Linked DNA regions of Homo sapiens: all the other regions are linked to region 1. The links are contacts of gene promoters, found by promoter capture Hi-C in human tissues and cell types (Jung and others, 2019). All regions are on one chromosome and are shown on one strand. The core of a region is centred on a gene start or on the middle of the fragment in contact, and the rest is flanking DNA. Distances in the headings are between cores, read along the strand shown.

Region 1 (4,974 bases), core at 993-3,492:
GACAGAGCGAGACTCCGTCTCAAAAAACAAACAAACAAACAAACAAAAAGCTGGGTGTGGTGGTGTGCACCTGTAATCTCAGCTACTCTGGAGACTGAGGCAGGAGGATCGCTGAAGCCTAGGAGTTCGGGGATGCAGTGAGCTAGGATCCCAACACTGCACTCCAGTCTGGGCAAAAGAGCAAGACCCAGACTTTAAAAAAAAAAAAAAAAAAAAAAAGCTGTGATCCCCTTAAAAGTCCTAATAGGCCACCACTATCTGCCCTTTTGGCAAGAACTTTTGGTCTCCCTCATGAGTGGTTTTTTTTTGTTGTTGTTTGTTTGTTTTTAAATACGGATGTCCTAGATTTTTGTTGTTTTAAGTGAACAATCTCTCTCTTAAGTGCAGACAGCCATCACATTTTCCAGAAGGAGAAATGGAAACAGTTGGAAAGGCAAGTCACTTTGCCCAGGGTTTGCTGTTTTTCACAACCTCAGCAATGAGGAGCTTTGCCTCAATAACTCAAGACAAAATATATTAATAACTCCAAGGCTCAGAATCCAAAATCATCAGAAATCTGGAGAAGGAGCCAGCTGGACTCCTCACTCAACTGAACCTGGTTAGATCAGTAAATGCCTCCGGGCTGCAGTTTCCCCATTTGTGAACTTTGGGCTAATGGAGAAACCAGGAGAGACCAAGGTTTTGGATAAGTCACAGAAAGGATACTACATCATCTCAAAGGATGAAATGCAACTTCTAAGAATTGCAAAAAGCAGGCAAAACTAAGTGAAGATGCTTCTCTCCCTCCCCTCTAGAACTCACACTTTCGCACAAAGAAAGGCCTTTGAAACACAGCACTCTGCCGTGGTCTTTACTGGGGTGGACAGCAACCTGTCCCAAGCCCCAAGCCCTCAGGAGAGGCATATTTCTGGGCAATATGTCTCACTCAACTAACCCCAGCCCTATTATCCGTGGGTCCACTGATAACTGCAGAAAATTGCCAGCTTCCTTCGCAGCCAAGGACTGTAACAGAGAAGGCCATAGATTGCAAGCCGGATGACCCAAGAGGCAAAACTTAACCAATGCTCCCAGAAGCTTTTAGGCACCATGTGGGAGAAAATGAGGCGAAGCCACTGGGGCGTGGTCGGAACATTTTTACCGGGGAGAGCAGCGCGAGAGTATAAGGAGTAAAGAACAGGCGGGGCGGCTGGCTCTTCCCTAACAAACGCCCACCTAACGGTGGGGACTGGTTCTTGCTCAAAGATGCGGCCCTGCTCTTTCGATTGTGCGGTGCGCCCCAGCTGTTTGCAAAGGTGTGGTCAGCACGCAAAAACTCCAGACGTCATTTTGATATTTTTAAAACGTTAAACGCCACCAGCAGCCAGCTAAGAATTAACTCTTAGGAGTGTATAAGCATATGGGTGTATGAACTGGAGGGCATCCGAGAACTGGCGTCTCCCACTGGGCCCTGGGAGAGGTGGAGAGTGTTACCTGGCCAGGTCGAGGAAAGAGTCCACCGTCTCTTTGGGGACAGGAGGAGGCCCCGAGTCCTCCAGCCCCAGGTCGCTGGACTGAAGGGTCTGCGCACCGGATCCTGGCTTGATGATGAACGCCAAGGCCACGGCGAGCGCCGAGGCACTCAGTGTGGTGAGGCCAAAGTAGGCGACAGCGATGCCGCCCAGACGCCCGAGGCAGCTGGCATCGAGCGAGGCGGCGCCCGACACCAGGCTGCAGACCACCAGCGGCAGGATGATCATGCGCAGCATGCGGAGCAGCATCTCGCCGGGGAAGGCCAGGTAGGTGACCTGCGTGCGGCTCAGGCTGAGCCCGCGCAACGCCGCGCCCAGGCCCGCGCCCGCCAGCACCCCGGACACGGTGAGCAGCACCAGCGCTTGGCGCCGCAGGAAGCCCGCGCAACGCCGTGCGCGTCCCGCCGCGGTCCCCGGAGCTCCGGGCCCGGCCGCAGGCCCCGCCTGAGCGCTGTCAAGGTAGCCGTTGGTCTCGTTGCTCTTCTCCATGGCGCTACACGCCGCTCCGAGCTAGAGGTGGCAGGGGACGTGGGCTCTGGCAAAAGACGGGGTTCCCAATGAATGGGTCGGTCGGCCAGTTGTGCTCCGCAGGTTCTGGGAAGCCGCCCCGGGGGTCTCCGGGCCTGGCGCAGGAGCAGGTGCGAGAAAGGCGAGGAGAGGCGCAGAGTGCGGGTTGGAGCCGCGGGCGGAGAGGATCGCGCCCAGCCTCCCTGGAGCAGCCGCCGGCTGGAGATGATGCAAACGGGAGCCGCGAACGCGGACGCAGACGGGGAAGTAGGAGGGCGCGCCAGCGGCCCCAGCCCGCTCACTTCACGCCCGCCGTCCCGCCCCCTGTGGCGCTGGCCAATCACAGCCCGGGAGCCGCCGCCGGGAGCCGCCGCCGGGAGCCTCTGGTCCCCACCCGTGTCGCGGGTGCCGCAGGGGGCGGCCGGGCGGGAGGCTCCACCCGAGGCCGCGGGGGCGCGGGCGGCGCCGGCCAATCCTGGCGCCAATAGCCGCCTACCCGCCCGGCTAACGGAGGCCGGCTCCGGGCGACCGCGGGGAAGTGCGGGCTGAAGGACCGCCCGGGCTCCTTGGCACCTGCCGGGCCCTCTCCCGCGGCCGGGATCTGAGTCCTCGGGGCCAGAGGGCCCGGGAGAACTTAGAACGCAGCGGCGTTCCTCCTCCTGAGGACTGTGGGAGGGGAGGGAGGGGAGGGGAGAAGAGAGGAGGAGAGGGGAGGATCCCTCTCTCCCGGGTGGCGCTTTCGCCCCGCGCGGCCCGCGCTCCTCTCCAGAGCTCGCCGGCCTCTCCCGCCAGGGGGCCGGGCGCGGTGAGGGGGCCCGGGGCGGTCCTGCCGTCGCGTCCCCTCCTGCGGAAGATCCCTTCTTCCAGGGGTCCTCAGGGGCTTGTGCGGTAAAGCACGCCATGGTGCCCAGCAAGGCCCCGGCCTTGAGACAAAGGACGGACCGGAGGATGGATGAATAAGGGGAGCCTTCGCACGCGCTCATTAGGGCTCTAACGCAGCCATACCGCTAGAGAAAGGGGGCTCGCTGTGCCACCAAACCCGGCGCCCCTGGGCCGCGGAACCGCGCGCACCGGGGCGCTCCTGGGCTTGTGTCCTGGGGCCATCAGGATGGGGCTGGGTCGCCCGCCAGGCAGCTGTCTGCGGTATGGGCGTTTAAGACGCAAAGCTCTTCTAGAAGAAACAGAGCTCTCACGCCACCACTTCCAGTTGGTTTCTGCCACGTAACCAAAGCTGAAACACAAGCCACTGGATTTTAACCTCTTCCGTTCCCAGGCCTGAGCCCTGGCGAGAAAACAGCGCAGACGGCGGTTTGGCCATCCTGAACGGTTCCTTATTGTTCACGTTCTATGGATTTCCTGTTTATTTCATCTTTTATTTGATATCTGCTTTGGCCACGCGAGTTACAAGGGAAACTTCTGCTGAGTCTTTTTACTGTATCACAGTTATTATATTTTTATATTTTTTTATTCTGCTTGTGAATTGTTCTTTAAAGACTTCCGTGGGTGGTCTTTTGTTTTTTCTTTTTCCTTCCTTCCTTCCTTCCTTCCTTCCTTCCTTCCTTCCTTCCTTCCTCCCCCCCTCCCTCCCTCCCTCCCTTCCTTCCTTCTTTCCTTCTTTCCCTTTCTTTCCTTTCTTTCCTCTCTTTCTGGGACAAGGTCTCGCTATGTTGCCCAGGCTGGTCTCCCAGTTCCTGGGCTTATGGGATCCTCCTTGGTAGCTGGCACCACCCACTGTGCCAGGCAAGGGAAGACTTAATTGTGGCTAACCTCAATTAAGGAGGAAGGCAATTTACTATAGATTTCTTGCTATAAAGGAGTCATCTTAAAACATGTCATGACATATTTGTGCAAATCAAAATGCCTTCATAAGGAACTTTAAGGAGCTGTCCAAATTTTGAGACAGTGAGTATTTTATTGCTTGGAGCCAGCCAGCTATTGGCTAGAACTTGTAAGGATTGTGTGTGGGGGGGGGGGGGGTGGGCGGGGGAGGTAGTGTCAGATGAAGAGCTGCACATATTTATATCTGGCTTTCCAGAATGCAGTTCATTTCTCTATGTGCACTGAAGAAAGAGTAATTCCTACAGACACACACTGTGTTTTGCCAATCAGCCCTTCCCTTTGTTTTGACTACCACGTTTATGCAAAAGACTCTCAAATCATGCTCCAGAAATGAGTCTTCGGCTGCCTGTTTTACATCTTCACCTGAATATCCTGCAGGCGTCCCAACTAAAATGTTCAAAACCAAACTCATGGTTGCCTTCCTCAAACCTGCTCATCCCTTCGGTTAAAACATAATTGATGACCCAGTCACCTCTGTGTGAAACTTCAAAGCGAACTTTGATTCTTCCCTCTGTGGTGCCTTCTCTCATCTAATGAATTGCCAAGTCCCACAGAGATTCCTTTCACAATATTTATCACATCTGCCCATCCCATCTATTCCCACTGCTACCACACTGGCTCAGTTCTTATTTCCTCACTTCTTATCTGGGCTATTGAAATGTTCTCCCAATTAGTCTTCCCACCTCCAATGCTCCTCTTGTTCCAACCATCCTGTATTTTGCCTTGCCCCAGGCTAATCTTCCTAATGAGTAATATACATGTTAGGATAAAGTTCAGCTTTCACCCAGCAGAAAAGAAAGAGCAATGAGGGCATGGCATCTCTCTTTAAAAACACTTCCTAAAAGTCATACACATTATTTCTCTTATATTTCATCGATAAGAATTTAGTCAAATGACCATTCTTTTCTGCAAGAAACGTTAGGGAATGTAATTTTTGTTTTACACAGGCATCCACCCAGTTAAAAAATTGGAGTTTCTGTTACTAAGGAAACACAGAAAAATGATATTGGAGGACAACTCCTTCATATCACTTCTTGTTCAAAAGCTTTCAGTGGCTCCCAGTGAATTAAGAATGTGTTCCTCATCCTGGCATTCGAGACCTACCATGATCTGGCCTCAG
Region 2 (4,974 bases), core at 797-3,296, 940 kb after region 1:
CCTCTGCATGTCAAGAGTGTAAAGAGGAGGGCAAACCAGGAGGCACTGATGTAGAACAAGAGGCAAACTCATGCATATGAATAGTGCCCAGAAGGAACTGGCATAGCCATAACTCTGAATAAAAGAGCAGCCTCTCTTCAGCAATTAGCAACAAGGTATCACAAATTAGCTAATTCATAGTAACCTTTAGGAAATCTCCCATGACAGCCTCATTATTTCCTCCATCCTTCTAGTTCTGTGTACCTTTATGTATTCTCCACGCCCCTAGCAAGACAGGCAGGTGAAAGGATTTGATCATTTTCAGGACAGCATTCCTGAGCCTTGTTCCTGATTTCCTACAAAAATCCCAAATTGCAGCCGGGCGCAGTGGCCCATGCCTGTAATCCCAGCACTTTGGGAAGCCGAGGCAGGCGGATCACCTGAGGTCAGGAGTTTGAGACCACCCTGGCCAACATGGAGAAACCCCGTCTCTACTAAAAATACAAAAATTAGCCAGGTGTGGTGGCGCATGCCTGTAGGCCCAGCTACTTGGGAGGCTGAGGCAGAATTGCTTGAACCTGGGAGGTGGAGGTTGCAGTGAGCTGAGATCGCACCATTGCACTCCAGCCTGGGCAACAAGAGCGAAACTCCATCTTAAAAAAAAAAAAAAAAAAAATATTCCCAGGTTGCTCCTTGGGATTTTTGCAGGAGGCCAAAAATGGGAGCAGGCCTAGCACAGTGTCTATCTCATTGCATAAAAGCTTGAATTGTTTGTTTGTTCTGTCTTTGGTGGGGACAGTGTGCCCAAGAAAAGGAAGAACATTTCCCAAACTCAGAAAAAAGAAAGCAAAGGCATTTGGGACATGCCACCCCAAAATATGCTACTTTGGTATACTAATTATTTGAAGCTGAAGACACTTGAAAGACAGCAAATGCAGGGAGAGGCTTTCTCTGAACTCTCCCTTACCTGCCTGAAGACAGATCCTCCAAAATGAACTCAGTTGTCATTAATTCCCCTCTCTGGTAGGTTAATCAACCAGGAAGATTGACTATTACAACAGGACAGAAGATTAGAAGTGGACACCACTTCTATTACATCTATAATAGAATGTAAGAGTTTGCTACAAACGATTCCATCTCCCTAAGGGCTCATTCTTTCCCCCAAATTATTTACCCTCTCCTAAGTTGTCCATATCCCTCTTCTTCTTTCCCCTACGAAGACAGTATAAGCTCCCAAATCTCACCACTTTTTTGGGTATTCATTTTTTTTTCTCTTGTGATGCCCCATCCATGCAATAAATTTGTATACCTTTTCTCCGGTTAATCTGCGTATTGTCAGTTTGTTTCACAGACTCAAATTTTAAACCTAGGAGGGTAGAGGAAAAGTCTTTCCCTCCCCTGTAAAAGCAAGAATGAGGTGCTAGTATAGGGCCCATCATTTTATGCCCCAGAGCCTCCTCTTCCTTCTCCATTCTCCACTCCCACCCTGAGACCATTCACCATCCATCAGCTACTGTGGTCTACCCCCCAACACAACTTTTAAGAGTAGGTTTTGCTTACCATTATCTTCCTGCAAAGGGTACTCACGACTCTAAACTCCTCTCCCTGAATTGTGCCGTTGTATCTGGGAATTTATCAAACTTCAAGAATTCCTTAGGGATTCCAATGTTGAGTAAACTCAAATATAAACAAGCTGACATTTACAACTAAATATCCAATATCCAAAAAGTTTACAATATAAGAAAATAAGGCCAAACACCAATAACTTCTAAGCAAAAATAGCCGAAAGACAAATGCCTTGCTGCCTGGTTTTTAGCCTTGTAGAATCTGTGGCATTGTTATGGTTGATACAATTGTAAAATATCTGCAAAACATTTGCCAGCCTCTTGATGAAACTGAGTTATTTTCTTCACTGTAAACCACGGGAGAGCCCCAGATTGCCACTCCAACATCTCCTACCTGTATTCACAAACAGGAAGATGTAGGCTATGAAAGCAGGAAAGGACAAGAATATTTTTGTTGGTGTAAGAGAAGGCTTTTTAAAAGTTGCCTCAACAGCCAAAGAAATGAAATGAAGCCTTGTATTATCTGATCCTTCTACACATTTGTGTGTGTGTGTGTGTGTGTGTAGTTTTTCAAATAACTTTTTTTTTTTTGAGGTGGAATCTCACTCTTGTCACCCAGAGTGGAGTGCAATGGCGCGATCTCAGCTCACTGCAACCTCCGCCTTCCAGTTTCAAGCGATTCTCCTGCCTCAACCTCCCGAGTAGCTGGGATTACAGCCGCCTGCCACCACACCTGGCTAATTTTTGTATTTTTAATAGAGACAGGGTTTCACCATGTTGCCCAGGCTGGTCTCGAACTCCTGACCTTGTGATCCGCCCGCCTCGGCCTCCCAAAGTGTTGGGATTACAGGCATGAGCCACGGTGCCCAGCCTCAAGTAACTTTTAAGGCAACATTTTATTTAAAATTCTGCCTCTTTAACTTTCATTTTTTTTTTTTTTTGCTTCTATAGTTTTTTATTTGCATTCATTTAACACACAATTTTATAATTTACACATTTTTAATGTCTTGAATTATTCCTTTGAGTTGTTATATAAAAATTTACCTAGTTGTTGAAGTTTAGTTTCCTATGTTTTTCATTTTAGTTCATACTGAAATAAATATGTTTGTGGAAAGTGCTTTTCTCCTTACTGCAAGTTAATCTACAATCCATTACAGTGAAGAGCATGTGGCAATGCTCAGCAAATATTATAATTTTGTATAATAAATTATCAAGAATGAGAATATGGGGTAAAACAAACATTGAAACAATTCTGGTGTAAAAAAACAACATCTTGATACAGATTACTAAATAGCTTTCTAAAATAATTCTACTTATTTGCTATGTCAACAGATAAGTTGTTTAACACATTATTTCCATCGATACATCTTTTTAAATCTTATTCATTAAGAAGAGATTAAGGTATGACAAGAATACTGGTTAAATCAAAGGACATAGAGAGTATGAATGAATATGGAGAGTGTGGGTCACATTTTCAATTTTTTTTTTTTTTTTTTTTTTTTTGAGACACAGTTTCGCTCTTGTCTCCCAGGCTAGAGTGCAATGGTGCGATCTTGGCTCACTGCAACATCCACCTCCCAGATTCAAGTGATTCTCCTGCCTCAGCCTCCCAAGTAGCTGGGATTACAGGTGCCTGCCACCATGCCCAGCTAATTTTTGTATTTTTAGTAGAGATGGGTTTCGCCATGTTGGCCAGGATGCTCTCGAACTCCTGACCTCAGGTGATCCACCTGCCTTGGCCTCCCAAAGTGCTGGGATTATAGGCATGAGCCACCTTGCCCAGCCTCAACTGTTTTTAAAATCTTGACTATAGTTTAATTTTTCATTTAAGTCCGCATTCTAACTTGCAGGGCAGAACATGTAATGGGATCAGTTAACCATCCCAATTTGAACATCTTAAATCTTGGATCGGTTTTAGCCCAAAGGACCAAAGTGGGTTTGAATTTGTTATAAGGTGAATTTCCAGCTAGCAGGGAAGGACAAGAGGCCACAGAACTTGGCCATTCAAAGTGTGGTTTGCAGACCAGCTGCGCCAGCACCACCTGGAAGCTTGTTATTAGGTTGGTGCAAAAGTTATTGTGGTTTTTGCCATCAAAACCGCAATTACTTTTGCACCAGCCTAATAGAAATGCACAGTCTTGGGCTTCAGCCCAGAGCAACTGAATCTTAATCTGCATTTCAACAAGAGCTCCAGGTGCTTCTTATGCACATTGAGTTGGAGAAGCCACCTTCTAGACAGTGAAAATTGCTACTGCCAGTTGTCTAAGGGCTTTAGTAGAAAAGATAGTTCACCATGAATATTAAAACATGAATCTAAAGGTAACAAAAAACCTTCTATAATTTTAATTTGGCTGGTTCTTTTGAAAACATTCTTTATAGTATAGTTCGGCTTTTAAAAAAGTCAAATATAGGCCGGGTGCGGTGGCTCACGCCTGTAATCCCAGCACTTTGGGATGCTGAGGCAGGAGAATCGCTTGAACCTAGGAGTTAGAGGTTGCAGTGAACTGAGATCGCACCATTGCACTCCAGCTTGGGCAACAAGAATGAAACTCCGTCTCAAAAAAAAAAAAGTCAAATATATTATGGAGAGTTTTAATACAAGCTTCTTTTATTTAAACCATCCTAGCAGATAATGGATTATCTGATTTCTAAAACCAAGCTCCTCAGGACCTAGAAGAGAAAGCTTGGCAGATCAGGAACAAGAAAGTCTGGGGAAGGATGGGTATATGTGAATAGGCACAAAGTGGGCATGAAGATTACATGGTAATGCCTACCAGCAAGCACCATCTACCACCAAAGAGGCACTAAACAACCAGAAGTCAAAATGACACGGCTGGTTGACTTCAGCTAGCTTTCATCATCAGCATCTAGTGCTAATATGTTATATACAAACAGTGTACATGGCCGGGCATGGTCGCTCACGTCTGTAATCCCAGCACTTTGGGAGGCCAAGGCGGGCAGATCATTTGAGGTCAGGATTTTGGGACCAGCCTGACCAACATGGTGAAACCCCATCTCTACCGGAATACAAAAATTAGCCAGGCATGGTGGCAGGCACTTGTAATCTCAACTACTTGGGAGGCTGAGGCAGGAGAATTGATTGAATCCAGGTGACAGAGGTTGCAGTGAGCTGAGATCATGCCACTGCACTTCAGCCTGGGTGACAGAGCAAGACTCCCTTTCAATAATAATAATAAATAAAAATAAACAGCGTACCATCGTGGCAGAGTGCAGGGTATGAAAGGTCTTAAAAACATGGGCTCTTGGGAAGTCGAGGCTGCAGTGAGCTGTGATTGCACCACTACACTGTAGCCTGGATGACAGAGTGAGACCCTGTCTCAAAAAACAAACAAAAAAAGGGGCTCTCTATGGGGTCAGCTGAAACATTAGTTGAAACTGCACCACAGCCCAACTTCTGCCTCTGTCCAAT
Region 3 (4,974 bases), core at 256-2,755, 850 kb after region 1:
TAATGAGCCTCTTGGGATGTTGCTAATTCTAAAAATATGTAATACCCGCGGTTTCCCACCATCTTCTGCAGTTTCTTTTTCTATTATTTTTTTGGCTACAGTTTTCTTTTTCCCCTAAGCTGTCTAAAATAAGCTAAGAAATGTTTAAATGTAGTTGACAAGAAACACAGTCAGTAATTTATCATGCTAAAATTTCAACATACAAGGTGCAATGAAATCTGTTTTAGGGATAGTACACTTTTGAAGGGGGCTAAAGCAGGGACAGCAAATAAATTTCGTTTGGGGTACCAAATCTGATTGTTTAGTGGTGGCTGCCTAGAGTGCTGTGTTTAGAAAACTGGGAGTCCTTGTTCAAACTTAGCAGGAAAGAGTACTGTGATTAGCAATTTCTGCTGTTGGTGAGCGGTGGACTTTTGGCATGGATGCCAAATACATTCAGTGTTTATTGATGCCGTTTACATGTCACAGGTCTAGATGCTGATACCTCATAGACTAAAATCTCTGCTTTCATGGTGTTTACATTCTAGTAATAAGACACAAACCATAAAATAAATAAAATACATTGCGTTTTAAGAAAAATGGCTGGGCGCAGTTGCTGACACCTGTAATCCTAGCACCTTGAGAGGCTGAGGTGGGAAGATCCCTCTTGTCCAGGAGTTCAAGACCAGCCTGGGCAACGTGGTGAGACCTTGTCTCTACAAAGAAGTTTCTTAAAAAATTAACTGGACGTGGTCCCAACTACTCGGGAAGCTGAGGTGGGAAGATCACTTAAGCCTGGGAGATTGAGGCTGCAGTGAACCATGATTGCACCACTGCACTCCAGCCTGGGCAACAGAGCGAGACCCTGCCTCAAAACAATAGAAGTTAAAAAATAAATAAAAGAAAAATGACCTGATTTATTCAAAAAATTAATAGCAAGAAATAGGGAGGGAGAACTATAAGATTAAAAGAGACTTAAGAGGCTTTTCCACCAAATGCAATGTATGAAGCTTAGTTCTATCCTGCTTTGAGCAAACTAACTGTAAAAAGACATTTATTCAAAATTGGGGAAATTTAGACTCTGGATATTTAATGAAAAGGATTTGTCCATTTTTTCAGGTGTGAGAATGTACTTTTTAAGTGTTCTTTTAGAGATGTATAATGAAGTGTTTACAACTTAAAATGTGATGTGTGGGTTTTTACTTCAAAATATTGAAAGGGAGAGGAACATAGATGAAACAAGATTGGCCATATATTGAAAATTGCTGAAGGTAGATGCTATATGGATACATGAGGTTTCTTACTTCCTCTTTATTTTTGTGTATGTTTGAAATTTCCCCTAATAAACAGTTTTACACACAAACAGGAAAATAAAGCAGGGAAGGGGAAGGGAGAATAAATGGGATATGTGTATGAGGTTCGGAGGAGGATGCAGTTTTTTGCTTTTTGTTTCTTGTTTTTTGTTTTTGAGATGGAGTTCTGCTCTCATCACCCAGGCTGGAGTGCAGTGGGGCGATCTCAGGTCACTGCAAATTCTGTTTCCTGGGTTCAAGTGGTTCTCCTACCTCAGCCTCCTGAGTAGCTGGGATTACAGGCACACGCCACCACGCCCAGTAGAGTTTTGTATTTTTAGTAGAGACAGGGTTTCACCATGTTGGCCGGACCGGTCTGAAACTCCTGACCTCAGGTGATCACCTACCTCCGCCTCCCAAAGTGCTGGGATTACAGGTGGGAGCCACCACACCTGGCCAAGATGCAGTTTTAAAGGGTAGTGAGAAAAGACTTCATTGAGAAGATGATAAATAGTTAAAGTGAGTAATGACCTGAAGGAGGTAGCACAGCAAGCCTTGCAGGTCTCCTTGGAGCAAGACATTATACACAGAGGGAATAGTAAGTGCAGTGGCCCTGAGATGGGAGCGTGCCTACAACTGCAAGAAACTACAAGAAGACAAGGGTGTGAGCCAGGCATAGTGGCTTGCACCTGTAGTGCCAGCTACTCAAGAAGCTGAGGTGGGAGGATCATTTGAGCCCAGGAGTTCCAGACCAGTCTGAGCAGCATAACCAGATCCTGTCTAAAAAAAACAAAACAAAACAAAAAAAACTAGCGTAACTAGATCAGGGTGAGCGTGAGTACATAAAATCAGCATCAGCATGGGAAAGGAAGGTTAGAGAAGACTAAATTGTGTAGGGCTGGTTATCCATCTTTAAAGGAAAAATATTTTATACACTTATCTAAAATAAGTCTTATACTTTAGAGTAGTCACCATGGAAGCTATACACTTAACAATACTAGCATTACTCAATATTTTTAGAAAAAAAAATTTTTTTTGTCGTCTAAGCCAGTTTAAGAGCCACACGTGAAAATAGCTCATTACTTTGTATTTGCTCCTTGTTTTTAAGGAAAAAAGGGGTGATTGGCCACGTGATATTTCATGTTATTTATCAGATATGACTCACAGAGGATCTTGACAGAAAGAAAATGGGAAGTAACTTGAGGCTATTTCTAAAAATCAGATCCAGTCTGAGAAGGCAGTTATTGTTTGTAAAAGTCAGATCCACCCATAGACTAAAAAGGAATTTTAATAATGTTGTGGATAATTGTAGCATCATTTGGAATAAGGGTATATAACCTCTGAGAGTGACTAGTATGGAAGGCACCATACTAATTTGGATATTTTAAGGTCTCACAAAATGCGCACACACACACACACATACAAGATCATATACAATTCTTAATACTAAGTATCAAAACAGTAATTTCAGGTAAATTTCATTTATATTCTGCATTCAAGACTAAAGGGATGGTATTTAAAACACAGTGAAATTGTTTAAGTCTTGTCGCTATGGCATACACTTGGGGAAGGAACTAAAAGACTAACACATGTTAGTGTTAAGAGATGAATCTGGTTCTTAAGTCTTCTTATATTCATGCTTCATTTCTCAGATTAGTAGTTGTTTTGAGAACATTCTGATTTACCATAAGAACTGTTTTTATTAAAAAAGGCATAGGAAAAATTGGATCTCATCTAAATGTTTAAATGCCCCCAAAAACCTCAATAAATATGGATTGTAAAAATCTACTCTCAGGACAATATACATGTAGGATTACTAATTTTGAACAATTACTATACTAGTTCATTCTTTAGAGGTACAGTTTTTCCAACCTGAGAAACTAAACATTTCAGTGATTTTTACTCTCCTGATAATATTGAGTAAAGAAAGCCATTCTTTTTCTTGTTATTTATGTCCAATGGTGGGGGAGCACAACGTTTTCATTTGTTTTGTTTTGTTTTTGAGACAGAGCCTTGCTCTGTCACCAGGTTGGAGTGCAGTGGCACAATCTCGGCTCACTGCAACCTCCACCTCCTGAGTTCAAGTGATTCCCCTGCCTCAGCCTCCCAAGTAGCTGGGATTATAGGCGCACACCACTACGCCCAGCTAAATGTTTGTATTTTAGTAGAGACAGGGTTTCACCATGTTGGCAAGGATGGGCTTGATCTCCTGACCTCGTGATCCACTGCCTCAGCCTCCCAGAGTGCTGGAATTACAGGCGTGAGCCGCCGCGCCCAGCCTCATTTGTATTTTTAACCAATCATTTAAAATGTAATGCCATGAAGTAGAACTTATGAACTTTTATTATGTAGTTAATTACATAGTGACCACTAAGAATATAAGTATATAACTGTGTAAGGAATACTTTAACAAAGCTTCCTATTTTAAACATTTTTCAGTAAATTGTTAGGAATCTAGTTCTTTAATTCACTCAGAGTTTTTGTCCCTTTAGTGTGTGTAGATGTATGTATGCATGTGTATGTATAGATAGCCAGACTCTCTTACCATATACTGCACATACTATCAGGGCTGAGCTGCTAGACTAGATTATTTAACGTATTTTAAACACTAGTTTGTTAACATGGAACAACTGAGCCCATATTTAATTCCTGGGCTTTCCATTAACTCTGAAAGTCTTTTAAAACCTTTGATTCATCTAAAAAAAAAAAGTGGCAGTGGTTTTTCATAAAGATCTTTGAACTTCTATGATGATGACCATACTGAAGTGTAACTTATTTTAGAAAGCTTTCATTCAGGCTGTTGATTTGCTGGTAAGATCATGAATCTGTTTTTCATTTCCATTTTTGTGGAATAAATGAATAACTTCTGACGGAAGAGAAAGAGAGGGAAGGCAGCAAGAGAAGGAAGGAAAGGAAGAAATTGGATCTCACAAAATAGTAAATATAAGTATGGATAATTCTCTGAACTTGGATGTGCTTAAGTGTCTATGACCTAATGAGCTAAGGCTCAGATGTGTAAATTAAGTAGAGAATAGAAGTAATAATACACCTTGCATTTGAAGAGAAGTTATTGCTTTGCAAAAGTGCATCTTACATTTCATGTTGACTTAAACCTTATGACCATGATAAAATCTATACTTAATTTTGGAAATAATAATGAGTAACAATAATTGAGAGATTATTTGAAAATTCAATCTATTAAGCTTTGTAGATTTTTACAGCAACAGGTTCAAGGTTATTCTTCTCAGCTTGTGCATTGCAAGATACTTGTAATTTCCTGCCTGTCTCACTTTCATCTATTCATTACTCTGCCAATAGCTCTCTTTATCATCCTTTGCCAGCTTTAGTCATGCCTATTGCTCTTCAACAGCGTTTTCTATGTTTGTCTGCCATTTTTATACTTATAAAGTAGACTTGGAATGAATTAAGGTTATAAAGTAGTAACCTGTGGATGGCAAGTACAATACTTTTCCTATTTGTGCCATACTTAATCTTTTTAAACTTTCCTTGCCTATTTCTGGTGTGTGCCTTGGTGGAGATCTCTCATCAGACACTAAGAGATAACTACATGACCTGTAGGATGCAATACTTTTTTAACTCAATAATGTAGGAAACAGTAGGAAACAGTTTGAGTTTAAACTCAAACTCATTGAGTTAATCCTGCATCCATCCAGAACCTACATACCTAAACTAGCAAAGTTTG
Region 4 (4,974 bases), core at 1,033-3,532, 830 kb after region 1:
GCCTGGGTGACAGAATGAGACCCCGTCTCAAAAAGAAAAAAAAAATTTTTTTCATTAAAAATATGTCAAACTCCTAAGCAGGACATAGGACTTTAAAGTCAATGGAAGTCAGTACAAGTAACTGTGCAATCAATGAAAACATGGTTTTCTTATATTTCTAGGAAAACTTTCCAAAAATTTTTTCACAAAAATTTTTAATCCCAGCACTATGGGAGGCCGAGATGGGTGGATCACAAGGTCAGGAGATCGAGACCATCCTGGCTAACACGGTGAAATCCCGTCTCCACTAAAAATATAAAAAATTAGCCAGGCGTGGTGGCACGTGCCTGTAATCACAGCTACTTGGGAGGCCAGCAGGAGAATCACTTGAACCCGGGAGGCAGAGGTTGCAGTGAGCCAAGATCACACCACTGCACTCCAGCCTGGGTGACAGAGTGAGACTCCAACTCAAAAAACAAAAAAAATCTAAAGAATTAATAATTAATATTTGAGTTATCTGAAAGCTACCAGATAAGCAATAATTGACTAATTTTTAAATATGGAAAACAAGGCTGAGCTCAGTGGCTCACACTGGTAATCCCAGCACTTTAGGAGGCCGAGGCGGGCAGATTACAAGGTCAGGAGATCGAGACCATCCTGGCCAACATGGTGAAACCCCATCTGTACTAAAAATACAAAAATTAGCCAGGTGTGGTGGCGCGTACCTGTATGCCAGCTACTCGGGAGGCTGAGGCAGGAGAATCGCTTGAACCAGGGAGTCGGAAGTTGCAGTGAGCCGAGATGGCACCACTGCACTCTAGCCTGGTGACAGAGTGAGACTCCATCTCAAAAAAAAAAAAAAAAAAAAAAAAAAAAAATATATATATATATATATATATATATAGAAATCAAATATATTCTTCTTCAATTGCAGTGAATGTAGTTTATCTTTTTGTTCTTTTGTAGCTTAGAGAACAGAATGTATATCATGATTATCATTACGGGACCAATCATCAATACAGTAATATAGATGGGGAAAGTGTAGGAAATGGAGTTAAACATGCATTAAAGATGTAAAATATACATTGTTCTTTTAAGTAAATGATTTGTTTACTTGGCTGAATACCTGAATTTAAAGTTTGGAGGTTTTCTGAAGAACATCTCATGTCCTTTCTTTCTCACCAAAGTATACTGCAGGGGAAAATCCAATTATTTTACCTTTCTAATAGTTTGAATTCCTGATAAATTATAATTTCTTATAATTTGTAAAAACATTTAAAAATACTGTATGAATCATCATTAACACATAATCTAAGTTGTTATTAAAGGGCTGGGACTACTGTTGTTTTATTTTTTATTTTTTCTAGGAAAACATGAAACAAGGAGGGACTATTTTTTATTGGGCCCTTATTTATTTTATTAAATAAAGGTTATTTGGCCTTTATTTTTATTGGACCCTTTATTTATTGTATTAAATAAAGGTTAACACAAAATAGCATAAACCTTTATTTAATATGTCTATTTCTACTGTTTCTCTGTATTGAAAACTTTATCTGGTATCATTAGAAAATAGATATTCCACATAGAAGAATTTTCTAAGTACTTGAAACTCATTCCTTTAAATCCACAGATTAGTTTTATTTTAACCATATCTATTTTTAGACTTTAAAAATATACCATACATTACCCTGTTTTCTTAAACGGAGACTAACCAACAGAATGCAGTTGTTTCTCAATTATTAGAGTCTTAATTTTACACATTCATTATAGTGCCATTTTTATATTCAACCATTTATGCATTCAACAAAGCCCTCAATGACTAGCATAGTATGTTCAGTACTGTTTCCTTCTACACAGAGTGGCCCAGACTGAAATGTTTTTTAAGCGCCTGTGTTTGTAGTTTTTTGTTACAGCAGTGAGGTATAGTGAGAAAAATTAAGCTTTGGTGTCAGACAGACCTGGATTCAAACTCCAGGTCCACTGTTTACTAATTGTGCAATTTGGGGAAATGTATTTGACTTTTTAAAGCCTTAATTTCTTCATCTAAACAATGATGATGGTAACTTGCAGAATGGTTGTAAAGAGTAAATGAGGTAATAACTGTAAAGAGTCCAGTGCTCCCCAGTCTTCAGCTCCCATCCCTGTTGTTCTGCTCTTCACAGTTCTTGCTCCTGCCAGTTCACGGCTCTCTCTGTCTTTTTTTTTTTTTTTTTTTTTGAGTCGGTGTCTCACTCTGTCGCCCAGGCTGGAATGCAGTGGTGCGATCTCGGCTCACTGCCTAACAGGTTCAAGCAATTCTCCTGCCTCAGCCTCCTGAGTAGCTGGGACTACAGGCATCACCATGCTGGCCAGGCTGGTCTCGAACTCCTGACCTCTTGATCCACCTGCCTTGGCCTCCCAAAGTGCTGTGATTACAGGCGTGAGCCACCGCACCCGGCCATGGTTCTCTTACTGTTCCCTGTTGCTTCTCAACCGTGAAAACAGGAACCTCTGATGCTCTGTTCGTTGCTGTGTCCATAGACCCTGCTGTTTGCCAGTAGTACCTGAAAGTGTGGACACCAGTAGAAAACTTGTGTTTGAATCCTGACGCTACTACTTTCTACTGTGTGATCTTGGCTAAATTAATCAACCTCTCTCCACCTCAGTTTTCTCATTTGTAAAATGAGGGGAGTCATAATACTTACCTCAGAGGATAAAATCAGTTGCTTGTGGAATTATCCCTCACACATAGTTAACACACAATAGATGTTAGAATCTGTAATGAATGGAAAATTTTTGTTGTTTCTAATCTTCTATGGCCCGAGGAATGAAATAATCAGGTTTCTTTCAATGAGTTTAAAACATAATAAATTTTTCTATTAATCAAGTTTCTGAGCTTCAGTATATAGCTTTTTAAACCTTTTCTTTTTTTTTTTTTTTAAAGCAGCTCAGAGGTTTTACTTTGACTTCTGGGTTAGTGAGTCCTATTTTGATTGCTGGATAAAGATCTCAAGGTAATTGGGATTTTTACCACATAGAACTGCGAGATAGCCTTTTTTTCTTTCTTTTCCTTTTTGTTCTGTTTTGTTTTGAGACAGTTTCCCTCTGCTGCCCAAGTGGGAGTGCAGTGGCATGATCATGGCTTACTGTAGCCTTGACCTCCCAGGCTCCAGCAATCCCCTCACCTCAGCCTCCCAACTAGCTAGGACTACAGGCATGTGCCACCACACCCAGTTAATTGTTTTTCTTTTTTTTTAGAGGCAGAGTCTCACCACATTGCCCAGGCTGATCTGGAACTCCTAGGCTCAAACAATCCTCCTACCTTGGCCTCCCAAAGTGCTGGGATTACAGGCGTGAGCCACCATGCCTGGCTCTTTTTCTTTTTTTCTTACTATATGATTGAACTCCATTTTTTTCTGTTCCACTTGTAAAGATAGATTTGCAGTTTTATGCTAAGCCAACCAGTTTGCCTGTGTTTCCATGTACAAATGTTTGCCTTTTATTCACGGATAGCCAACCGTATCAATAGCCAAGTCCATAGTTCACCATGTTATCAGTAAAGCCGTGATATTTATAAATCTTAACACCTAACTCATTTCATAATCTACTAAAACATCAAATATTTATATTATGTATTCCATTTCCTTGTGTCAATTATCACCTATTTATCTTCAACTACTAGCCCAGTCTAATCCTCTAGCTGAATAATCTGTTGGAATTTGGAAATGGAGAGTAAAAGATGAGGGTAAATAGCTATTGTTGAGTAGTGAATAGCAACAACTTTTTTAGGATAGCAAAATTATCTCATAAACGTTACATATTCATGGTTCTAATTGAACAATGAAATCTAGCAATTGAATAAACAAATGTTTTAACTGAATCTCAAATTACAAAAGGGCTTATTTTCTTATTTTGTATCAGTTTCACTGCTCTATACCTATAGAACAAGGTTTCTATGGTTCCTTTTTATGCTTATTTATCAAGACATAATATGACCATTGATTCCAACATTAGTAGCATTCTAATGGCAATTTTTTCTCTCTGTTGTGTCAAAAGTCATACATAAGCATATGTATCTATGCTGTCATTCTCTTCTGTTCCCTGGACATTTTTGGTTACCCAAGCAATCTAAGGGACTGCTTGAATTACACATTTGTTAGGGTTGGTTGGCCAGGATTTAGGTGTAGCATGCTAGAGACTAGAAATTCTAAAACTTTCCCACACAATGGAAGACAGCTTGGGGGTGAGGGAATTCTTGGCAGTATCAGACTTTCCCAGAAGGCATTTGGCATTTGCTCAGTGATTGCAACATAGCAGACACTTTTCCAAGGGGAAAGGTGAGATGCAATAATGACTGCCAGCTAAACACCATTCCCAAATCTTAACATTACACACAGTCACTAATCTGGCCCTTTGTTACCTCTCAAAGCTGTACATGGGGACCTGTCTTCAGAGTAATTTGACATGTTCTGATTTTATTATTAAGTATCAACTAACAATGGTCTGCAACCCCTAGCCCAGGCTGATACTCCAGTTGAATAATCTATAGGAATTTGGAAATGGAGAGTAAAAGATGAGGGTAAATAGTTATGGTTGAGAAATAAATAGCAACAAATTGCTCAAGATAGTAAAATAATGTCACAAGTGGTAATATATGATTGTAATAGAAGAATTAAATTTAGAAATTGAATAAACAAAACTTCAAGCTGAACCTGAATTTATGAAAGGGCTTAGTTTCTTATTTTATATCAATCCTACAACTTTTATGAACAAAACAAGTTTTTCACTGAATTCTGTTTTATTCTTATCAATCAGTAAAACTACTTCTGAATGATGGGGCTTTCTTGGATGTCTAGTCTTCTAAGAGAAAAAAAATCACTTCTCACAAATTTCCTAAATATTAAGTCTGGTCAGTGAGAAACTAAAATGTAGGTATATATCATAGTGATGATAATCTGATTAGCCAAGTTGTTTTCTTTAAAAATACATACTCGTGGGCTTTTCAACACCTTTTCT
Region 5 (4,974 bases), core at 687-3,186, 660 kb after region 1:
AGCAGCAAAGCTGGGGCTCCTGAGATAGTATGCGATCTTCTGGTGGCGCTTTAAGCTTGTGGTATAAACTGAGGTGGTCTCAGGTCTCTGGGAAAGAGAGGATCTCACAACAGAAACATTTTTCCAGAAAAGGGCGCAGCTTTAGAGTTGCCTTAATAACATGGGATCTAGCGCCACCTAGTGCCTGCTGCGGAGCTTGACATGGGTCTTGCTCTGATAAGGTGGTTTTGGTTTTTTTGGAAATTGGCTTTAACCAAGAGAGAGACCGAAATGGAGAAACACGTTTTCTGCACACAGGGCTGTCCTCATGCCCACGATGAGGGACTGAGAGTTTGGTGGAAGAAGCTGAAAAGCTACAATCTTAATGTGTCACGGACGGGGGTGTTGGGTGAGGGGATGGGGGAGTCTTTCTCTTGGAAGGAAGCTGGGGTGACTCACAAGTAATATTTAGAGTCTTAGTCCCAGAAGATTGGCTTGGATTTGTCTGCATGAATATTTTTGCTCACACTAGAAAAAAAATACTGGTGCTATTTTATGACTTCTATGCTTTTCAAACTAGTTTCTCAGAGCTCTCCCAGAGCCAGCATAGGGGCTGCTTACAAAAAGCCCTTGGAAGCTGCTTCACTGTGGAATCCACTCCCGCTCCTTGCTACTGCCTACAGGACAAGCAGCCCTCCTTTTTTGTCCTGCCACTGTCTGGCTGCCCTCTAACCCTCTACTAATTAAAGCCACCATTTGCTATTTGTTTAACGTGATTCATTTCAACCTCAGAACAGCCAAGGCAGTGGATATTGGTAATCTCAACTGATCTTTAGGGAGGTTACAGGACTTACTCAAGATCTTTCAGCTCATAAGCAGAAGTGGGATTTGAACCCAGAGTTATTGAGCTCCAAAAAATTTGTTCATTTCACTACAGTACTCCATCTGCACTGCTAGGGGTAGTGGCTATTGCAGAGGATGCTACAATGTCCAGGAGGTTCCAGGAGGTTCTTGAGGAGACAAAGAACCTCTGAACTAGAGGACTTCTAGCTTGGAGGACACTTCCTGCTCTGGGCCTGTCCCTGTGACTCCAAGGCCTGGCTCGATGCTTGGTGTAAACACCTCCCTCCTCACAGCATCTGCCCTCCCTCAACACAGACATTTCCTCAGCCTACACTTCTCCACCCTTGGAAACCACCCCAGAGGAATAATGAGAGCAAAGAGCAGGGCAGGGAGTTGGCAACTCTGTAGAATGCCAGGAGAATCGTGGATTTGTCTGACTTCTGGGCTTTGGCCTCATCTGGTGGAAAACTGTGAAAATTCCCTACTGGCTCCTCCCTTTCCTTCCCTCCAGGCCCCTCCACCATTCTCCACCAAATAGACACACCTCCAGAAGAAGGTTAAGTAAGGCTACTCTCTGGATGCCTCTGAAACAAAGTGGTTTGCTTAAATGTACAGATTCAGAAATAAAGTTTAAATGGGGCAGCAGGCTGCAGTGGGACCCACACCCTGACCTCCATAAATGGATAAATGTTCAGGCTGCTGGAAGACCATGGAGGTGGTTTGGGGGTATCCGAGGAGCACAGAATTAAGAGACTGGGACTTCAGTCCCCATTCTGTCACTCCTCAGCTCAGTAATTTTGGGCAAAGTCACTTAACTACTGTGAGCATCAGTTTCTTCACTCAGAGAATGAGGACAATGATTCTCTTACCTGTAAGCTAACAGATGAACAAGCGCTCGGTAAAGCCCTGTAAGGGTGTGAGGTACCATACAATGAAGGAACTATGGGCATGCAGGATTTAGCTGAGAGTGCCTTTACTCACTTCGTCCTTTCCCTACCTCTCCCTCTTCCCCAAAAGGAGTCTGTCTCCTATAAAAGGGGTCTTAATACAGACTCACACACACGCACACAGGGTCTTCAGTTCTTGTGGGCTTTTCATTTTTTTTTTCAGAGTTAAATCATCTTGGAAAACAGCTTTTCCAATAAAGACCCAGTGGCCAGGACTGCTGGATGCACTTTCTTTAAAGGTGGCGGGAAACGCAGAAGCAGGAAGGTCCAGGACGGCATCCATCCTGTGCAAGGAGAAGGTCCTAAAAGGCTATTTCCTCTGCTACCAACTAAGAAAGATGGACGTTTGTAGCTGGGCACGGAGGCTAATCATCCGTAATAGTCTGGCAGTGCTAATGCATTCAGGGGAGAGCAATTAATGCCTGTTGGGGAACATCAGGACAGAGCTTAGAGTCTTGCAGCCTCTGGCAAAACCAGTTTGAAAACCTCAGGCTCCATTTCTAGTTTAGGGTGTCTCCACCTGGCTTGGCAAACTCTGTGCCTCTGCAAGAGGGAAGAAATAGCTTCCTAAGTGAGGCTTGGGAGGAACAAAGGCCTCATTAGGATCAATCACTTATTCCAAGTACACATTCCCAAGAATCTCTATTGATGATCTCAGATACAAATGAAGTAGTAATTAAGGATGTAATGCAAATGATCTTCAGCTTAGTAACTCTCTGTAATTGAAATTTACTAAATTAAGTCTGAGATTTTTGAAACTAGGCCTTTAAAAAAAAATTCCCCGGTTATAATTACCCCTTCTCCTCCCTCCTACCCACCCTTCAGTAATGTAATTAGTTTAAAATAAGATCCGTGGTAGGGCTGATGATGCGCTGCCTACTGAAATGCTGGCCTCCTATCAGCAATCCCCAGGGAGTGAAGAGAACAGGGGCTCGCATCAGTCAGAAAGGCCACTGTCGTGTTACCAAATATAGGACAAGGAAACCGGACACAGAGCTTGTGATACCGACTGTGCTGGGCGGGAGAGATTTCTCAGCTCTCCCTTCTGTTTCTTTCCCCTCTGCCCACAGACCTGGGATAAGCTATGGACCATTCAGAGAAAGAAGGGAATAGACTGGAGTAGGAGAGGAATTGGAATGTTTAGGGGGTGCTGAGAAGGCCCCTGACAGGAGAGACAGAGGGCTTGGGCAGATCAGAAACCTGGCTGTTTTCTCAGAGGCCAGAGTGCTAAATCTCCATCAGTAATAGCCCTGCGACTCGTCCAAATCCTGTCCTCTGCCACCTGATAGGACCACCCCTGGCCTTAGCTCATTTCTCCTGATATGCCCCAGCAGAGGGCAATGCCCGCTAAGCTCAGCCTGCCCAGAACCCAAGAGGAGCCGTGTGGGCAGAGAAGGGGCCCCAGCAGGCGCTCCAGCCTCCCCGTTCTTTTCCCCAGTTTGGTTTTTGTCCCAAAGTGGGACAAAGAAAGAGGATTGAACATTGTCCTGGGTATGTTTGATCTTCTAGAAGAGCATATTGGCCTATTTCATTTAATTCAGATGAAAAGACCAGCTTGTCTTTGAGATCACACTCTAATTTCATCAGAGCTGTCATGTGAGAACAGAAGAGAAGCTACCCACAGCCTTCCTCCTTCCCTTCCCCACTCCTCCCCTCGCTCACCCCCACCCTCCCAGCCCACGGCTTCCTGAAACTGTTAGATCAACACAGAAACACCTGAAGCCCATTGACCCTCACAAGGCAAAAGCCAAAGGCTGCCAGGGCCATCTTAAGATGCCGCACGAGAACAGCAGCTCCCTGGCAGGCAGCACAGACCTGAAAGAAAATGCGTTCTCCCACTGGCCCCCAGCCTTTGAAAACTGCGTGTGCGCACGCGCCTGCTTTCTGTCATCCATTCACATCACCACTGTTAGAAACTTCCATAAATGCTCAACTGAAGCGCTTCTGTCAGAGACAAGCAGCAGAGTTGTTTCTGGAGAGCACAGCAGGTGTATGTTCCATTCGCAAATCAGATGGAAAACACAGACAATAGCAATCTTGTCTCTGAATAAGCCCTTGCTTAAAAGTTGCCCTTAGCTAATGTGGGCACGTTGACTGTTGGATCTTGGTGCCCAGTGTAGGGCCTGGCACGTGGTAGGTGCTTGATAAATATTAGCTGAGTGAATAAATGAATGACTCACTCTTCTTCAAAAACTTTCAGGAGCTTCTCAGTGGTATGGAAAAATGACATGATTCTAAAATCTGGTATTGGGGATCCTGCAATCAGATGCCTGCCTGCCTTGCCCGCCTGGTCCCATGTTGCCAGGCTGGAGTGCACTGGGCCGATCTCGGCTCACTGCAACCTCTGCCTCCCGGGTTCAAGCGATTCCCCTGCCTCAGCCTCCTGAGTAGCTGGGACTACAGGCACATGCCACCACACTTGGCTAATTTTTTGTATTTTAGTAGAGATGGGGTTTCACCACGTTAGCCAGGATGGTCGCGATCTCCTGACCTTGTGATCCGCCCGCCTCGGCTTCCCAAAGAGCTGGGATTACAGGCGTGAGCCACCACGCCTGGCCAAGACTCTGCCTTTCTAACAAGTTCCCAGACGATGCTGATGGTGCTGGCCCAGGACCACATCTTGCGCATATCACTCACCCTGCATCCCACCAGCTGGTCAAGGTCCTGCTCAGATGCTACCGTTTTTGTCAACAAAACTGGGCACACTAGCAAAAAATGCACCCCCTCCCCGCCCACTCACCTCACTGCTACACCCCTCTGTGCCTGCCAAGACACTTTGTATCTGAGCTATTTGGCTGTGTCTCCCTGACCTCAGGGGCCTAAAGTTCTCATGCCTTTCCCCGTACCCCACAGAATCTCATTTAGTGCAGCCGGGGACACGCTACCAGCTGGGGCAGATTCCGTTCCATTCACTGGGACCTTAAAGAACTTCAGACTCCTTGATGCAGCACTCAGCCCTGGGGGTCCAAAGATGCATGACGCCCAGAGACTGCCCTTGAGATGAACATCTATTTTCTGGGTTATATTCACTGCTCACTGAGCCCACTCTGCTGTCCTTCCAGCTGCTGGCCTGGGGCATGACTGACCTGAGCAGACCACGGGATGTCCTCCCTGATCTAAACCAGTGGGAGGTTCCTCTCACTAATACACATCTCCAAGTTCTCAGCTTGCCTTGCTGTCTTTGAGACTCAGAAGGGAGGTGTTA
Region 6 (4,974 bases), core at 1,759-4,258, 600 kb before region 1:
GATGGTTCTATTTGGCAGGGAGGAATGGGAGACATTTATCTCTTCGGGATGGATAATTGCACTTGGCTGTTCTTTCCTTTCCATTCTCATTGTCACTAACCTGATCCAGAACCTTAGCACTACCCACCTAAGGAATGTTGCAGCAGCCCAGGATGACTGCTGGCTATGTGCTTTCCCATTCTAATGCACCCTACTCTATCCTAGGATAACCCTCCTAAAAGCCAACTGGGATTGAATTACTCCTCTGCCAAGAACCCTCTGCTGCACCTTATCCAAGGCCCACCATAAAATGATGCCAGCCCACCTCACCCAAAACCTCTTCCAGAAAGTCCCAGCTCCACCCTGGTTCTCTCCTCCACAGATGTCAGACCTGTATGTGGTCTGATGGCTCTCTCAGCCTCCTTCATTCTCTCCCCATTTCTGCCACATTTTCCCCAATAAATCTTGTGTGTGTCTAATTCCATTTTGGTGTCTGCATCTCAGATGATCTGAACTAACACAAATGGAGAGTGAAAAACAAAAAAAAAAGTCTGGCCACATTTATAAATTCATCCCAGGCTGCAAAGAGTTAGACAGCACTTCCCCAAAGAAAACTGTCACGTAAAACATTCAAAGATTCTCAGTTTAGCCATCATCTAGCCAGTTCTTCCCACTGATCACATTTTCCCAATTTATAGATAGGAATACTGAGCCTCAAGAGGTTAAGTAAATCGCCTGAAGATTATACAGCTAGTAAATGATGAAATCAGGGCTCTTGACTCAAAGTCCCAGTGTCATCCAACTACACTTGAGTGGGCTTGAAACGAATCCTAAGAGTTTTGTAAATGGTATATCATTATCTAACATAAGGTACTATGAACCACTGCCATCATCATCCTCATTTCTCTCTGAGGATCTTTGCAGTAAAGTGAAGGTAGTAGTAGATCTGTCATACTGAATGTTGAAGTCAGAATAATGGCTCCCCAAAGATGCCCAAACCCTAACCCCAAACCCTGTGATTATATAACCTTACATAGCAAAATGGACTTTGCAGATGTGATTAAGTTTAGGATTCTGAGATAGAGAGATGACCCTGGATTATTCCAGGGTCCCAGTGTAGTCACAAGTGTCCTTATGAGAGGAAAGCAGGAGCACCAGAGTCAAAAGAGATACAAGGCTAGAGGGTGAGAGGGAGCCCTGAAGATGCCACTCTGCTGCTTTGAAGATAGAAGGGGCTACAAGCCAAGGAACACAGGCAGCCTCTAAAAGCTGGAAAAGTTGCTGGGCGTGGTGGCTCATGCCTGTAATCCCAGCACTTTGGGAGGCCAAGGCGGGTGGATCACGAGGTCAGGAGATGGAGACCATCCTGGCTAACAAGGTGAAACCCCGTCTCTACTAAAAATACAAAAATTAGCCAGGCATGGTGGCAGGCACCTGTAGTCCCAGCTACTCGGGAGGCTGAGGCAGAAGAATGGCGTGAACCCAGGAGGCGGAGCTTGCAGTGAGCTGAGATCGTGCCACTACACTCCAGCCTGGGTGACAGAGTGAGACTCCGTCCCTTACAAAAAAAAAAAAAGCTGGAAAAGTCTAGGAAGCAGATTCTTCCATAGAGCCTCTGGAAAAAATGCAGCCCCACTGACACCTTAATTTTAGGATTTTTAACCTCCAGAATTGTAAGAGAATAAACCTGTGGCTGGGGCAGTGGCTCATGTCTGAAGTCCCAGCACTTTAGATGGCCAAGGGAGGAGGATCCCTTGAGGCCAGGAGTTTGACACTAGCCTGGGCAACATGGCCAGACTCCATCCTACAAAAAAAATTTTTGTAATTAGCTTGACATAGTTGTTCACACCTGTAGTACTGTCTACTTAGGAGGCTGCGATGGGAGGATCCCTTGAGCCCAGGAGTTTGAGGCTGTAGTAAGCTATGACTGCACCACTGTACTTCAGCCTGTGTGACAGAACAAGACCTTGTCTCTAAAAAAAAATAAATTAAAACTTTAATAAATTTGTGTTGCTTTAAGCCACTATGTTTATGGTCATTTGTTACAGCAGCAGCAGGAACCTAATACACTGAATACTCTAGACACATACCTCTCACTCACCCAAAAGACACATGCACTCACACGCACACACACACACACACACACATATGCAGATCGCTGGAGACTGTCCATCTCAGCTCCCCAAACCCTAAGTCTTACTTTAGCCTCTACATGGACATCAAGCCTCACAGTTCTTGCAAGTGTCCACCCCACCCGCTCCTCTCAGAGCTGCCTCAGATCCCCTTAAAGACTCTCTCCCAGTCTTCAGTTTTTGTGGCTCTCATTCACTTACCAGTGGAGCTATTCTTTTTATTAAGCAATTAACAGAAAAAGTCCAGATTTCCCTAAGCCAAGCCTGGGAGTGACTATGCAAGAGAGGGGTCTTTTATGTGAGATGTAAAATACATTATATCAAGACCTGGAAAAAGCACAACTCCCTTAAAAATAAATATACAAATAAACGGGGACTTCCTCCAAGGAAGCTTGCAGGAAGCTTAATATAAAAGTAGACCACCCACAGTAACTTTCTGAGCCAGTTATTTGGAGAACCCCCAAAAGAAAAAAAGGATTCCTTCCGGGTGCGGTGGCTCACGCCTGTAATCCCAGCACTTTGGGAGGCCGAGGCGGGTGGATCACAAGGTCAGGAGATCGAGACCATCCTGGCTAACACGGTGAAACCCCATCTCTACTAAAAATACAAAAAATTAGCCAGGCATGGTGGCGGGCGTCTGTAGTCCCAGCTACTTAATAGGCTGAGGCAGGAGAATGGCGTGAACCCGGGAGGCAGAGCTTTTAGTGAGCTGAGATGGTGCCACTGCACTCCAGCCTAGGCAACAGAGCAAGACTCCGTCTCAAAATAAATAAATAAATAAATAAATAAATAAATAAATAAATAAATAAAGATAAAAAGGATTCCTGGCCTCTTGGAATCCATCCCCTGCCTTTGGGAAGCTTCAGGGTTCAAGTACACCAGGACTATGTCTGATGGCTTCTCTTGGACTTAATGAGGAGGACAGAGGCACTGATACAGGATATTCTGGATTTAGTAAATATCCCTGAAACCTGTAGACATAACAGAAACTAAAGGATAGCCCACAAAATCCCAAGGACATTTCAAAAAGCCTGGCTTGAAGGCCCCAGTGACAATGCAGTAACTAATTTGGAGGGTCACTGGAGTTAACAGTGACAGATCTGTGAAAACACAATCTCAACGAAGTGTCGACTGCCCTCTTTCCACTGCCTGGTGCCCATTAATCTCTGTGTGGTTAGTGCTGATAATTGTTAGGAAAAGGAGAAAATAGATTGATGATAGCCCTTGCAACTCCCAGCCTGGGATCTGACCACGGAATTCACCCCTGAGCAGCAATCATGGAATCTACTGTTTTACGCAGTTGAACAAATGAACTTATAGACTGTCTGAGCACAGGATCTTTAGTTAATACCTCATTGGAGAATTAACATTTAAACTTCTTATCACATCCTAAGTGGATTATCAATTTAAATCAGAGATATGGAGAATTACGCAAGTAGTGTTTGTATGTTCAGTGCTAGCTTAAAAATTTCAAGGATTCTTTTACACAGCCAAAGGAAAATAAAAATGATTCTGAAACAGAAATTATTTGGGCCAGGCAACCTGGCTCACGCCTGTAATCCCAACACTTTGGGAGGCCAAGGCGGGCAGATCACCTGAGGTCAGGAGTTCGAGACCAGCCTGGCCAACATGGTGAAAACTCATCTCTACTAAAAATACAAAAAAAAAAAAAAAAAATTAGCTGGGCGTGGTAGCATGCACCTGTAATCCCAGCTACTCAGGAGGCTGAGACAGGAGAATCGCTTGAACCTGGGAGGCAGAGGTTGCAGTGAGCTGAGATCATGCCACTGCACTCCTGGGTGACAGAGTGAGACTGTGTCTCACACACACACACACAAAAATCATTCAGTGAGCAAAGGTACAGAGTATTTAGAAAAAGCATATTGCCCCACACTTAGACTTTCGCAGAGATCTGATAGTCTCTTTAAAAAAATGAAAGACCCTGGCCAGGCGCAGTGGCTCACGACTGTAATCCCAGCACTTTAGGAGGCCAAGGAGAGCGGATCACAAGGTCGGCAGATTGAGACCATCCTGGCTAACACGGTGAAACCCCATCTCTACTAAAAATACAAAAAATTAGCCAGGCGTGGTGGCGGGTGCCTGTAGTCCCAGCTACTAGGGAGGCTGAGGCAGGAGAATGGCATGAACCCAGGAGGCAGAGCTTGCCATGAGCCGAGATCGTACCACTGTACTCCAGTCTGAGCAACAGAGCGAGACTCTGTCTCAAAAAAAAAATGAAAGACCCTGCAGACAAAATATCAAAGATAAGAACCATGAACAATAAAATTAATAGGAATGATCATTAAAATTTTTTTAATTTTGTAGGTCAAAGATATTGAATAATATTAAAATATAAACCACAAATGAGATAAATAACTGCAACATATTTGACAAAAATAGGTTGATGTCCCAACAAAGACCTCTTTACTCAATAGGAAAAAGGCACACCACTAAAAATGTAAGCAAATAAGACAAAAGAAGGAAAATATATGATAAATATATGAATATAAAGTAATATCCAACCTTATTTAACCAAAAGGTACACATTAAAACAATAAGTTTTTCCCACCAAGTAAGACTTTTTAAATGAGTAGAAATTTGGCCAGGCACGGTGGCTCACGTCTGTAATCCCAACACTTTGGGAGGCCGAGGTGGGCGGATCATTTGAGGTCAGGAGTTCGAGACCAGCCTGGCCAACATAGCAAAACCCCGTCTCTACTAAAAATACAAAAATTAGCCAGGCATGGTGGCGCACACCTGTAATCCCAGCTACTGGGGAGGCTGAGACATGGGAAATGTTTAAACCCAGAGGCAGAGATTGCAGTGAGCCAAGATCATGCCACGCTCATGCGTGGGCGACAGA

Evidence for each region. Contacts are between HindIII fragments. The study calls those that stand out against the background at their distance.
Region 2: a contact is called between a fragment that was not itself captured here and the fragment with the promoter of SLC1A4 in region 1, in 2 of the 25 tissues and cell types used here (dorsolateral prefrontal cortex and thymus).
Region 3: a contact is called between a fragment that was not itself captured here and the fragment with the promoter of SLC1A4 in region 1, in 1 of the 25 tissues and cell types used here (hippocampus).
Region 4: a fragment that was not itself captured here is called in contact with the fragment with the promoter of SLC1A4 in region 1 in 1 of the 25 tissues and cell types used here (spleen).
Region 5: a contact is called between a fragment that was not itself captured here and the fragment with the promoter of SLC1A4 in region 1, in 1 of the 25 tissues and cell types used here (dorsolateral prefrontal cortex).
Region 6: a fragment that was not itself captured here is called in contact with the fragment with the promoter of SLC1A4 in region 1 in 1 of the 25 tissues and cell types used here (thymus).

What each region holds. Positions count from the first base shown.
Region 1 is chr2:64,986,667-64,991,640 of GRCh38, reverse strand. It overlaps SLC1A4 (solute carrier family 1 member 4), which reads right to left and starts at 2,242. Exons shown (of 8, transcript NM_003038.5): 1 at 1,471-2,242. The coding sequence starts at 1,997. RefSeq lists silencers at 1,843-2,022, 2,233-2,932 and an enhancer at 1,656-2,240. The HindIII fragment of the contact is 13,271 bases long and covers 1-4,974 here.
Region 2 is chr2:64,044,819-64,049,792 of GRCh38, reverse strand. No RefSeq gene overlaps it. Among named protein-coding and RNA genes, the nearest start is that of VPS54, 28 kb to the right of the region's middle. The HindIII fragment of the contact is 4,282 bases long and covers 1-4,187 here.
Region 3 is chr2:64,135,201-64,140,174 of GRCh38, reverse strand. All of the region lies in intron 1 of PELI1 (pellino E3 ubiquitin protein ligase 1), which reads left to right. Among named protein-coding and RNA genes, the nearest start is that of PELI1, 6.7 kb to the left of the region's middle. The HindIII fragment of the contact is 7,153 bases long and covers 1-4,974 here.
Region 4 is chr2:64,157,251-64,162,224 of GRCh38, reverse strand. No RefSeq gene overlaps it. Among named protein-coding and RNA genes, the nearest start is that of PELI1, 15 kb to the right of the region's middle. The HindIII fragment of the contact is 3,586 bases long and covers 490-4,075 here.
Region 5 is chr2:64,326,253-64,331,226 of GRCh38, reverse strand. LOC105374769 (a long non-coding RNA gene) reads left to right here. Exons shown (of 3, transcript NR_187908.1): 3 at 560-746. Among named protein-coding and RNA genes, the nearest start is that of MIR4433A, 12 kb to the left of the region's middle. RefSeq lists enhancers at 3,189-3,348, 4,688-4,797. The HindIII fragment of the contact is 4,522 bases long and covers 1-4,197 here.
Region 6 is chr2:65,585,050-65,590,023 of GRCh38, reverse strand. It overlaps LINC03050 (long intergenic non-protein coding RNA 3050), which reads left to right. Exons shown (of 3, transcript NR_182288.2): 3 at 205-458. Among named protein-coding and RNA genes, the nearest start is that of LINC03050, 15 kb to the left of the region's middle. The HindIII fragment of the contact is 4,701 bases long and covers 658-4,974 here.